Linked DNA regions of Homo sapiens: all the other regions are linked to region 1. The links are contacts of gene promoters, found by promoter capture Hi-C in human tissues and cell types (Jung and others, 2019). All regions are on one chromosome and are shown on one strand. The core of a region is centred on a gene start or on the middle of the fragment in contact, and the rest is flanking DNA. Distances in the headings are between cores, read along the strand shown.

Region 1 (4,233 bases), core at 244-2,743:
GAGGCAGGAAAGTCCAGACATAGCTCCAGGGCTCCACTGCTCTTCCCAGCTTCACATCCCCCGAGGCCCTCAGTTTCCTCGCCTGGGAATTGGGAATAACCCCATTCACTTCATTGGCTGGCTGTGAGGGTCATAGCGTTCCCAATGGCAGCTGGCCTGGTGGCTGCTGGTATGTAAGTCATGTTCAGTGTTAAGGAAGAATCTTCTCCCTTTTGACAGTTCCTTCTTGCTTGTTGCCTGATCTTGGGCAGCCTGAGGACCCCAACTCATCTCTGCCTGCAAGAGTCCTGCTCCTCACCCATCCTGCCCTGTGGGATGGAAGAATGGCAGGAGGACAGGGCCTGAAGTCTCATCCCAACCCATGTGCCTCCAGCTTTGTGACCTCCAGCAAGTTGCTGGAACTCTTGAGCCTCAGTTTTCCCACCTGGAAAATGGGACTCTTTTCTGTGGCACCTACCTCACAGAGACAATTGCTGGATTTAACAGAGACAGTGCTATTAGCTCCGATCACTTGGAAACACACAATGGGCCTGGCATGAGGCTTGCTCAGTCATGCTATATCCTGTTGATTCCTCACTATGGCCTTTTGAGTGAGCCACTCTCACCAGCCTCATCTCACAGATAAGGAGATGGAGGAAACACTGAAGAAACTTGCCCAAGGTCAAAGCCAGAAGGCGGTGACCCTGCTTTGCACCCACGGCGTCTAAGTGGAGAGCCTAGACCTTTACCTGCCACTGTCTTGGGAAGTTAGCCCTGAGGGAGATGCACTTCTTGAAAACTAACCCTTCCTGAGGGTCTGCTCTCCCTCGGGGCCTGTGCTGGGAGCTTGAGGTAGAAGAGGGTGGGGGTACTCACACTCCCCACACATACGGCCGCTCAGTGAGCCCATCCTCCGGACCGAGAGACACACACGGCTTCTGAGAGGCTGGGGGCCCTGGCCCAAGGCTCACCTACCTGGTTAGCGATTGATGGACGAGGACACCGGTGGCCTGACCGCAGCTCTGCATCCCTGCTCCACTGCGGGCTGCCTGGAGGGAGGGATGCTCAGTCATCCCCTGCTAGTCCCTTTCCCTCCTGGCACTATATCCATTTTGACAAACCGTGCCATCCAAACCCAGGCCTGACTGCCCACTCCTCTCCTCTGACCCTCCCCTCCTTCCATCTCTGTCCTCCTCTTATCCCCCACCCCTCTCCATCTGCTGTTCCTGCCTTTTCAGGAAAAGTCCCTGTGCAGAAAGAAATTTCTTGCTGAAAGTGTGGGGGAGGCAAAGCCACCCTCTGTCACCCCCTCCTCCAGGCAGCCCCTCCTCTTAACCTGGGGCTTTCGTGTCTGAGAGGATTCCTGTCCCGACCCTGCCCGGTGGGCGTGCTGGCTTCCTCTCTGCCACCCTGGATGGACCGCAGCCTGCGCTGGCCCCACAGGAAGTGGAGGCGTGGAGCCGCCCTGGACCACCCCCAGCCTGCATAAAGGGGCGGTCGGCGAGGCTGCACCAGCGCCTGGCACCATGAGGACGCCTGGGCCTCTGCCCGTGCTGCTGCTGCTCCTGGCGGGAGCCCCCGCCGCGCGGCCCACTCCCCCGACCTGCTACTCCCGCATGCGGGCCCTGAGCCAGGAGATCACCCGCGACTTCAACCTCCTGCAGGTCTCGGAGCCCTCGGTGAGTCCCCCGCCCGCTCAGGACAGGGGTGCATGGCAGACCCAGTTCTTAAACCCTTGCCTTTACACGAAAAAAAAAAGAGAGAGAGAGAGAAAAGGATATTTTTCTTTTCTAGTAAATGTAAATCTCAGGAGTATTTGTGTTTTATTCATCTCCTTTTAAATATGATACCAATGGTTTGCTTTCTTCAAAACACAAGAAAAAGTAAAGACAACACAATTTTTGTGACTTACTAGCAAATATCAAAGGATCTGTTGTAAAATGTAAAAAAAAAAAAAAAAAAAAAAAAGAAAAAAGAAAAAAAAAGGAGTGGGAGGATGGGGAGAAAAACAGCTCCCCATCAGAGTTAAGGAGGACGGAGGAATGAAGCTTGTGTATTGCTTTTGTTAGCCTAGTGAGGAGTGTGCCCTAAGAGGTGGCTCACAGAACTGGCCTCCGCCCCTCATCTGCTGAGGGACCCGGGCAAATTTCTCAGCCTCTGCCTTTCAGTTTTCTTGTCTGTAAAATGGGATGACAGTAGCACCCCTCCCTTTAGAGTGGCTTTGACGATCAAAGGCAGGTGTGAACACAGGCAGGGCTCACAGAGCCAAGCCTACAGGAACAAGTACTCAACAGATGCCAGCTGATGTGAGCACGATCTTCAGAGGCAGATCTGGGGACTCAGAGAGGGGAAGACCCGGGAGGGCTTTTGGGGACTAGAACCCAGGCCTCTGCCTGCTTCTCCGTCGAAACAAAATGCATTAAACTTCATTAAAAGCTTTTGTAAAGTTTCAAAGTGTCTTTTAATCACTTGCAAATGCTTCAAACAAAACATAATGTTTCTCAGATGTTGGGGTTTACAAAAGCCTAGCTAACACCTTCTTGGTATTTTCTTTTTAAAAGTTAAATAACATGTATTTTTTCCCTAATTATAAAAGTATTGTACTTTGTAGAACAGTTGGAAAATAAAGTACAAAGAAGAAAAAAAATCTTGCTTGTAATTCTACCACCTAGAGGTAGCTGCTGCCGTAGCATTGTGGAGGATCATATTTCAGCTTTCTGTCTACATATAGGTATTCAAATACGTGTGTGTTGTGTGTGTGTGTGTGTGTAAACAAAATTTGGGTCAAACAGCACAAGCAGTTTTGCAACTTACTTTTTAATGACACTATCAAATAAGTTCATTTTTGTTTTAACATTTTGTTGTACAGTTTCACCACAATTTACCCACAAGTTTCTTGTTATCGAATATAGACAGCAATCATCTTTTAAAGGAATCTGATTTTAAAAGGTTTAAAAAGTTCAGAGGCTCTGAACCACAGAGCGGGAAGAAAGTGGAAAGATTATGCATTCTAAATCTCTAATTTCACAACTGAGGACTGAAGGAAGGCACTTGCCCATGGTCACACGGGGATTACTGAGAGGGCAGAGCACGAGGGCTTTTGCCCTTCAGCCCTGCGCAAAAACGGAAGCCCAATATAGAAATATAAAAGTATGCAAATTTATGCACTTCGATATTACTATATTATACACTATATACAACTACATATTAGCTATAGAATGCCTATAGAACAATAGGTATTATTACATATATCGTACTTATGTAAGTATATATAATGTCTATAATTACATGCAGTTATACAACTGTTATATAGCTAATATACTTATATAAGTTATTATATAAGTATATTATTATATAAGTTACTATATAACTAACTTATACAACTGTTATATAACTAAATAGTTATAGAACTGTTTTATAGATGTACATATATACTCTGTATGTATACTTGTATTACTGTATTATATATCACTATTTCTATATTACAGTTATAGGACTGCTTTTATGTATATACGTGTATGTATATTTCTGAATGGGTATGCATATAAAACAGCTCCCTGGTTCATAGCAAATGATATAAAAGTTGTATTCTAAAAGTCTAATTCCGGAAGCGCAGTCGCCCATTTCTGGAGGAGTGTGACGTATGACACAAGAAAGTACTGTGCATGTCGTAGCATCAGGGAGGGCCCCAGGGATCTGGGCTGGTCTGGCTGTTGAGAGGGCCACTAGGGAGACTTTTGTGACCAGGTATGCCCCTGTGGGCATCCCAGAACCCCTTATCCCTTTCCACAGGAGCCATGTGTGAGATACCTGCCCAGGCTGTACCTGGACATACACGTAAGAGGGTTCTCCCTGGGGGAGGGAGGTCTTGGGCTGAGGGACTCAGGTCTGAACCTCTGCTGCTGGCTGTGTGGCACAGAGTCAGGGAGAGATCTTATGCAGCTCAGTCCCTGTTCCTCTTGCTACTGACTTCTCCCACAAGCCCCCTCCCCATTGCCCACTCCCAGAATTACTGTGTGCTGGACAAGCTGCGGGACTTTGTGGCCTCGCCCCCGTGTTGGAAAGTGGCCCAGGTAGATTCCTTGAAGGACAAAGCACGGAAGCTGTACACCATCATGAACTCGTTCTGCAGGAGAGTAAGTGGATGCCATTGAAAGTCTATTTTCTACTTGCTATCAGCCAAGACTTTCTGAGCTTTTCAAAGAGGAGAGTTGGGAGGAGATGGTGACAAGGAAGAGGAGCAGAGATGTTTCG
Region 2 (4,322 bases), core at 1,151-3,650, 92 kb before region 1:
GCTATAACAAAATATCATAGACTGGGTGGCTTATAAACAACAGAAGTTTATTTCTCACAGTCTAGAGGCTGGGGAATCCAAGATCAAGGCATGGCAGATTCAACGTCTTGTGAGGGCTTGCTTCCTGGTTCATAGATAGCCATCTTCTTGCTGTGTCCTCACATGGTGAAAGAGACGAGGGGTCTGTACAGGGCCTCTCTTATAAGGACACTAATCCCATTCGTGAGGTTTCCACCCTCAAGATCTGATCACCTCTCAAAGGCCCCCACCTCCTAACACCATCACATTGGGGATTAGGTTTCAATGTAAGAATTTTGGGGGAATACAGACATCCAGATGACAGCACTCAGGACCCCAGCTGACAGAGGCTCCATCTCATCTACTATACATTTTCCTTCTTTGGTTATTGTCAGTCTCTTCCCTTAAGAAGTAGCATATTTGCCTGTTTGGCTCATTCTCTTATCCCCAGTGTCTGGCACAGTGTCAGTATTCAATAATATCTTTTGAATACATGAATCTTGTTCACTTTGATCAGTCACATTCATCTGTCAACCCCCACAGCAAGCCAAGCTCTTCTCTTCCCTTCTTTGGAAATGTTCTTCACCAGCTCTTTGTGAAACCACTGTGGTTCATTTTTCCAATCTCAGCTTAGATTTTTCCTCCACAGAGAAGCTTTCTTGTACTAGCTTTGTGATGGTTCATTTGCATGTCCATTTGACTGCGACATGGGGTGCCCAGATATTTCATCAAACATTATCTTGAGTGTGTCAGTGAAGGTGTTTGGAAATGAGATTAACATTTGAATTGGCAGACTGACTCCCTATGTGGGTGGCCCTCTTCCAATCAGCTAAAGGTCTGAAGAGAACTAAAGGCTGACCCTTCCTCTAGTAGAAGGGAACTCCTCCTGCCTGACTGCCTTGAGCCAGGACATCAGCCCTCTTTGGACTCAGCTTTGAAATGTCAGCTCTTCTTGGGTCTCGAGCCTGTAGGCTTTCAGATTGGACCTACTCCAGCAGCTCTCCTGGCTCTCCAACTTGCCAACTGCAGACCTTGGGATGTCTTAGTCTCCTGAATACATGAATCAATTCCTTATAATAAATCTCTTTTTATATAGATCTACATTCTATTGACTCTGTTTCTCTGGAGAATGCTGACAAATACAATCTCACAGCAGACACCCCCACCCATCTCCCCTCTATCCTTACTGTTTCAATCCACAGACTGCAAGCACCTGCTTCTCTTTGCTGTAGGGCATTCTCTTGTAGTGAGAACCCCTTCTGCCCTGCACAGCAGGTGAGAAATGTCTGGGATTAAAGTACTCTGAGAGCAGCTCTTACCTGGTGACTGATGGGCATGGGTGGGCCAATATCCCAAGTCTCTTAAACAAAGGGTAGGATGATTTTAAGACATGTTATGCACTGCTTACTAAAGTGTGCACATGCCCACAGTGGTACCTGCATGATGAAATCTCCTTTATTTGCTGCTTTCCCTTCCCTGTCTCACTTCTCTTCCTGCCTGTTTCCTGGGACCACATCTTAAACAAGCTATTTGCACATGGATCCTTGTCTCAGAATCTGCTTGTAAGGAAACCCAAACTGAGATAGAATCATCAAGGAGGTCCATACACATCGTTTTCTTTATTTTTAATTTTAGATTCAGGGGTACATGTGTTTGTTTGTTACATGGGTATCAGACGCATAATGACAGGGGTTGGGCTTCTAGTGTACCCATCATCCATATATTGGATGTTCTACCCAATAGATAATTTTTCAACCCTTCCCAACCCCTTTTGAAGTCTCCAGAGTCTATTCTCTCCATCTTTATGTCCATGTGTAGCCTTCATTTAGCTCCCACTTATAAGTGAGAACATGTAATATTTAATTTTCTGTTTCTGTGTTAGTTCACTTAGGATAACAGCCTCCAGCTCCATCTATGTGGCTGCAAAGGACACGATGTTTTCCTTTTTATGGCTGTATACTATTCCATTGCACACACACACACCACAATTTCTTTATCTGATTAACTGCTGATGGACACTTAGATTGGTTCTGTGACTCTGCTATTATAAATAGTGTTGCACTAAACATACAAGTGCAGGTGTCTTTTTTGTGTAATAATTTATTTTCCTTTGAGCAGATACCCAGTAGTGGAGTTGTTGAGTCAAATGGTCATTCTCTTTTTAGTTCTTTGAGAAATCTTTATACTGTTTCCCATAAGGGCTGAACTAATTTGAATTCCCATCAACAGTGTATGAGCATTTGCCTTTCTCCACGTCCACATCAACATCTGTTGTTTTTGACTTTTTAATAAAAGCCATGCTGACTGATGTAAGATGATATCTCAATGTGGTCTTAATTTGTATTTCTCTGATGATTGGTGATGTTAAGCATTTTTATGTGTTTGTGGAAGCTTATATTTCTTTTTTTTTTCAAAAATGTATTTTCATGTCTTTTGCCCAGCTTTTAATGGTGTTGTTTATTTTATTCCTCTTGAGTTGCTTGAGTTCCTTATAGATTCTGGATATTAATCCTTTGTTGAGGGCATAACTTGTAAATATTTTCTCCCATTCTGTAGGCTGTCTGTTTATTCTGTTGATTATTTCTTTTGCTATGCATAAGCTTTTTAGTTTAATTAAGTCCCATTTGTCTATTTTTTTGTTTTGTCACATTTACTTTTGAGGTCTTTGTCATAAATTATTTGCCTAGGCTGATGTCCAGAAGAGCATTTCCCTAGGTTTTCTTCTAGGACTTAATATAGTTTCAGGTCTTACATTTAGGTCTTTAATCCATGTTGAGTTAACTTTTGTATATGGTAAGAGATAGGGGTCCAGCCTCTCTCTTCCACTTAATGGTCAGCCAGTTTTCCCAGCACCATTTATTGAATAGGATGTCTTTTTCCCATTTTTTATTTTTGTCAACTTTGCCCAAGACAAGTTGGTTGCAGGTATGTGGCTTTATTTCTGAGTTCTCCATTCCATTGATACATGTGTCTATCTTTGTGCCAGTACCATGATGTTTTAGTTACCATGGCCTGGTAGTATAATTTGAAATCAAGCAATGTGATGTCTCTAGATTTGTTCATTTTGCTCAGGAGTGCTTTGGTCATTTGCGCTTTTTTTTTTTTTTTTTTGGTTCCATATGAATTTTAGGATTTTTTTTTCTAATTTTGTGAAAAATGACATTGGTAATTTAATAGGAGCTGCATTTCATGTGTATATCACTTTGAGCTATATGGTCATTTTAATGATATTGATCCTTCCAATTCATGAGCATAGGATGTTTTTCCATTTGTTTGCATTGTCTACAATTTCTTTCATCAGTGTTTTGTAGTTCTCCTTATAGAGCTCTTTCACCTCCTTGATTAAATGTATTCCCAGGTTTTTTTTTTCTGTGGCTATTGTAAACGGGATTGGTTCTCGGTATGAATGTTATTGATATACAGAAATGGGCTACTGATTTTCATACATTAATTTTGTATCCTGAGACTTTACTGAAGTTGCTAATCAGGTTTAGGAGTCTTCTAGAGGAGTCTTCAAGGTTTTCGAGGTATATGATCATGTTGTCAGAGAACTGAGATAATTTGACTTCATCTTTTCCAATTTGGATACCTTTTATCTCTCTCTCCTGCCTGATTGCTCTGGCTAGGACTGTTAGTACTATGTTGAATAGTGGAACTTGTCTTATTCCAGATTATAGGGAAAATGCTTTCAACTTTTCCTCATTCAACATGATGCTGGCTGTGGCTTTGCCATACATGGCTCCCATTATCCTGAGTTATGTTCCATCTATGTCTAGCCTGTTGAGGGCTCTTATCATGGAGGACTGCTGGATTTTATAAAATCCAGCTTTTTATCAATCTGCTTTTTCTGCATCTACTGAGATGATCACACGGTCCTTGCTCCTAATTCTGTTCATGTGGACATGCCTATCATTTTCTATCACAGCATTCTGTATTTTTCTTTCCTAGTACATATCATATTTGCTAATTTTTATGTATTCATTTGTTAGCTCCACTGTCTGTCTTCAGCAAGAGCATTCGTCCATGTGTGTGTCCTTTGTGACTATCATAAAATAGTTGTTCAATAAATATTGGATGAATACATGAATGAATGAATGAATAACTAGCCCTGGCCATTTGCCTTCCCCTTCTCTTAAGTCAGTTTTCTCATTAGAAAAATGAGGCAGCTGCGCATGACACCTGGAAAGTTGCTTCTGGGTCTTGTATCCTGAGATTCTGAGATGTCAGGGCTCACAGGATAATAAAGCACATAGTTTTGTTGCTGGACAAGGCTCTGGATAAGAATGTGGCTTTAGTCTGCATTA
Region 3 (4,694 bases), core at 262-2,761, 110 kb before region 1:
GTGGTAAATTCTGGCCAGGTACAGTGGCTCATGCCTGTAATCCCAGCACTGTGGGAGGCTGAGGCAGGTGGATCACTTGAGGTCAGGGGTTCCAGCCAGCCTAGCCAACATGGCAAAACCCCATCTCTCCTAAAAATACAAAAATTAGCCAGGAGTGGTGGTGCATGCCTGTAATCCCAGCTACTTGGGAGGCTGAGGCAGAAGAATCACCTGAACCCAGAAGGCAGAGGTTGCAGTGAGCCAAGATCACACGACTGCACTCCACTCCAGCCTGGGTAACAGAGCAAGACTCTGTCCCAAAAAAAAAAAAAAGTGGTAAATTCTATGAATGAAAGTAAATCCAGGTGTATGAATTTCCAGGTGCTGCTATAACAAATGGCCATATACTTGGTAGGTTAAATAATATCAATTTATTATCTTACAGTCCTGGAAGTCTCCCTGGGCTGAAATCCTGCTGTCAGCAGGACTGTGTTTCTTCTGGAAGATCTTGGGGAAAATCTGTCTGCTTGTCTTTTCAGCTTCCAGAGGTGTCACATTCCTCAGCTTGTGATCCCATATTACTGCGACTTCTGCTTTGGTTGTCACATCTTCTCTCACCCTTATGCATCCCCTTTTATTTATTTTTTATTTTAGGTTCCGGGTGCAAGTTCAGGTTTGTTACTTAGGTAAACTGCATGTCACAGGGCATTGGTGTATAGATTATGTCATCACCCAGGTAGTAAGCATAGTTCCTAATAGGTAGCTTTTTGATCCTCTCCCTCCACCCAGTGTTTGTTGTTCCCCTCTTTATGTCCATGTGTTTTTATTGTTCAGCTCCCACTTATAAGTGATACCCAAAGAAATATAAATCATACTATAAAGACATATGCACACAAATGTCCACTGCAGCACTATTCACAATAGCAAAGACCTAGAACCAACCTAAATGTCTATCAACAATAGACTGGATAAAGAAAATATGGTACATATACACCAAGGAATACTACACAGCCATAAAAAGAGGAAGATCATGTTCTTTGCAGCAAGATGGATGGAGCTGGAGGCCATTACCCCATGCAAACTAACACAGGAACAGAAAACCAAATGCCTCCCTCTTATGAGGACTCTGATTACATTAAAGGCTACCTGTACAATCCAGGATGCTCTCCCCCATCTCAAATCCTTCAGTTAATCTCATCTAAAAAGTCCCTTTTGCCATGTAATGTATACAGATTCCAACATTTAAGACACAGTTATATTTGAGGAGCAGTTATTCTTCCTTCTACATCAGGTAAGGTGATAGTGATTGTGTTGGGGGCAGGAGCTGCAATTTTAGACAGGGTGGTCAGGGCAAGCCTTTCTAAAAAGAGGATAATAGAGCAGATCCATAAATAAAGTGACAGAAGATGCCATGCTGATATGAGGAGGATGGTTATTTCAGGCAGAGAGAACAGCATGTGCAAAGGCCCTTGGCAAAAAACATGCATGACAGTCCCCAGGAGCAGCAGGCAGGCAAGGATGGCTGGACTGCTGTGTAGGAAGGAGAGAAAGTGGGAAAGCCAGGGTCAGAGGAGAGGTCATGAGCTGGCCATGCAGGGCTTCACAGGCTGGGGTAAGGGCTCTAGGAAGTTTTTCAAACATGATGAGAAAGTACTACAGGGTTCTGAGGAGGAGAACGAAAAATATGGTCTGTTGATGTTTGTTTAAGCTGTTTGGAAATATTCAAACTTCAATCAAAGCATCTTAGATGTAATCAGGTGGAGATAAAATTGCCACATGACGGTAACTAGGGAAGCAGGATCTCAGTGATTGTACAGCGATCTCAGCCTGCCTGACGAAAGCTGATTGAAAAGATGGGGTGAGTGGTCAGACATCAGCCTGGAAAAGGGGGAGGCAGAGCAAGCCCTTAGTGCTGGTGCAGCCTGTGCACACGTGGGAAGCAGTGAAAGGGGCATTCTCATTACTGGATTTAGGTCTGTTCTCCTCAAATTTTCTGAGTTCCCTGATAGGAGTAGAGGACTTCAGATGTGATGGCTCTGCTCCCAAGGATCCTCTGCCTAGCAGAGGCATGCCCAGGTCCTGGCAGACATCAAAAGGGGGTGACGGGTGCAGCGGCAGAGTCAGGCACAAGGTCAGGGAGAAGAATCCACTCCATCCTCTTGGGACCATCAGGGAAAGTTTTGAAAAGCACAAGACACTGAGCATATACATGAGGAATAACAAAAATTTCCCAGGGGATGAGAAGAAGAAAGGATTTCAGGAAAATCTTCAACAGTGGCATGAAATAGCAAGATGAGTTCCAGGAACAGCAAGACAGAAGTATGAGTGGAAGGGATGAGTGGGGCAGGGTGGAGGAAGGATTAACCCACTGGATTGGTAGACATTTCCTCAGGCAGGAATGGGTCAGGCCTCAGCAGCGCCTTAAAAAACCATTGCTCAAGCGGCCTCACCTCCCTTTGTTTACCAAGTTGCTCTCCAATGCCTGATTTGGCCTCCCAGGGACTTCAGGTTTTGGAAAGGGGTTATTTTGGACAACAGATTAGACCACTGCAGTTCTCAGGAAGGTGTCCTCTTGGTGTGAACCTATTGGTTCCAGGGTGCTGAGTTTGTTCACAGGTCCAAGGCCAAGAGATTACTTTCTTTGCCTTTTGCCTACCTTCTCAAAGCCGACAGCCCAAGCCCGGTTTGGATTCTTCAGTAGCATGGCATTGTGCATGAAATAAGATCCATGCTCCTCACCATGGCCTAGAAGAACCCAGTCACCCCTCCCGCCAAACCTCCCCACCGTCACTCTCCTTGCTCTCACCACAGTGTGTTTCAGCCACCCATGGCTCCTGGCTGTGCCTCACAGCCCAGGCACTCTACTATCATAGAGCCTTTGCCCTGCTGTCCCTCTGCCTGGAACGCCTGGTCATGGTGCCCCAGTGCTGACTCCTTCCCATCCCCCAGGCCTCCCCCCGCCGGAGAAGGTGAGAGGTCTTCCCTCACCACCCTATTTGGGTCACCTCCCTTGGTACTCCCTACCTCACTGCCGTTTCTTTTGTATTTTTTATTTCTGTTTTAGGAATTGTCATGATCAGAAATATTTGTTGTCCTCCTACTGACTTGTTTATTGTCTGCACCTCTCCTTTGGGATGTCAACTCCTTGAGGACTGAGTTTTGCCTGTTTCATTCATTTCAGCATCCCAAGCACCTAGAACAGTGCCTGGCATATAATAGGCACTCAATAAATATTTACTGAATAAAAAAAGAAAGAACAAGTGAATGAATAAATATTGAATGGGAGAAATCCAAAGGAGTGCTGGCTGTACACATTTGCAATGAGAGGGTCACTTCTGCCTAGGGAGTTAAGGATATCTTCAGGAAGTATCTCACCATAGTCATTGATAAAATAGGCACAATGATACCTACTTCTTAGGGTTGTTAAGGTGATTAATGCGGTAAGGTACTAAAGGTTGAGGCACACAAGAGATATGTCAGTTCCTCTCAAGTTCGTGTTCACATTTAACATAATTATAATCAAGGTTGTTCCCCAAAATTGACAAAATTATTCTTAGGAGAATAAATAGGTGAGAATAGGTCAAATGTTCTGCCAAATAAGTTTTGAAGAGAAAAGTTTCATCCTACCAGATATAAGAATACATAGTTTATTCATTCAACAAATAGTCATTGCACAGGATAAGACGCCTACAATGAACAAGAGAGACAAAACCTCTAGTGATGTGTATTCTACCAGAAACCTAGTCACAAAAATGTCCACCAGAGCTTGAGGAAGGTGGAGGGAAGAAAACAGCTTTGGACGTTAACAGACCTAGGTTGGACTCCAATAAAGAAGAGAAGAGTTATTCAGTGAGCAGGGCAAGAACTGGCTAGCTACTGGGGAAAAATATAATAAAATAAAATGAATGTCTCTCCTTTCACTAGACTCCAAAGTAAATTCCTGAGTGGATTGGAGTTACTTGTAACAACATAAAAGCCATAAAGCTCACTGCCTAACATGAAAAGCATTCAATAAATATCAGTCTCTTGCCTTCCCCATAACTTATGGACATGACTATTTAGGTGTGCGATTTTGCCTCTCAGCAGATAATCTATTAGTTCAAGGCCACAGTCTCACAGGCTACACAAGGGCTGGAATCGACAGCTCTCCAGGCAATACACACTGAGAAACTACGTGTATGTCCTTTGCTTCAAATGCTGAAGGTGACGTTTTACCCCAGAAATTCCAACTGCACCCTGTTCACAGGTCAATACTAACATTCATGGCTCTGATTAGAGCAGTCTGCACACAGCTTCCCTTTCTCACCTCATTCACATTCATATCCTGAGCCGGTAGCAGCCAGAGAGAGATTCAGCTCCTGGCCAGTATCCATTCTGGCTGGCCAGGGCCAGTAGCCGATCAGTTGTTCAGAAGAGACTTTTCCTCCACTCCCTGTTTACTCCCCATGTGCCTGAGGCACTGCCTGGTACGAAGTAGACAGCCAGTATTTGCTAAGCTGAGCTGCAACCACCTCTTGTTGCCTCATTAAAAACTGCTTTGCTTTCTAGTTGATTAATGTGTTTTGTAAAGCCTTAAAACCTCTTTTTACCCCTCGCTCCACACTCTTACCAGCAAAAACACTGAATCTATAAGCACTCAGGAAATCATATGCCTAATTCATACAGGAAAATATTACACAGCAAAAACCTCAGGACAGAAGATAATTTGGATGCTG

Evidence for each region. Contacts are between HindIII fragments. The study calls those that stand out against the background at their distance.
Region 2: a contact is called between a fragment that was not itself captured here and the fragment with the promoter of CYTL1 in region 1, in 2 of the 25 tissues and cell types used here (IMR-90 fibroblasts and aorta).
Region 3: a contact is called between a fragment that was not itself captured here and the fragment with the promoter of CYTL1 in region 1, in 2 of the 25 tissues and cell types used here (H1 embryonic stem cells and thymus).

Annotation. Positions count from the first base shown.
Region 1 is chr4:5,016,718-5,020,950 of GRCh38, reverse strand. CYTL1 (cytokine like 1) reads left to right here and starts at 1,493. Exons shown (of 4, transcript NM_018659.3): 1 at 1,493-1,658; 2 at 3,772-3,816; 3 at 3,987-4,115. The coding sequence starts at 1,506. It also overlaps a transcript of STK32B not described here. The HindIII fragment of the contact is 2,782 bases long and covers 1-2,221 here.
Region 2 is chr4:5,109,080-5,113,401 of GRCh38, reverse strand. The region is part of intron 1 of STK32B (serine/threonine kinase 32B); the gene reads right to left. Among named protein-coding and RNA genes, the nearest start is that of STK32B, 60 kb to the right of the region's middle. The HindIII fragment of the contact is 4,169 bases long and covers 316-4,322 here.
Region 3 is chr4:5,128,416-5,133,109 of GRCh38, reverse strand. The region is part of intron 1 of STK32B (serine/threonine kinase 32B); the gene reads right to left. Among named protein-coding and RNA genes, the nearest start is that of STK32B, 79 kb to the right of the region's middle. The HindIII fragment of the contact is 4,515 bases long and covers 1-3,768 here.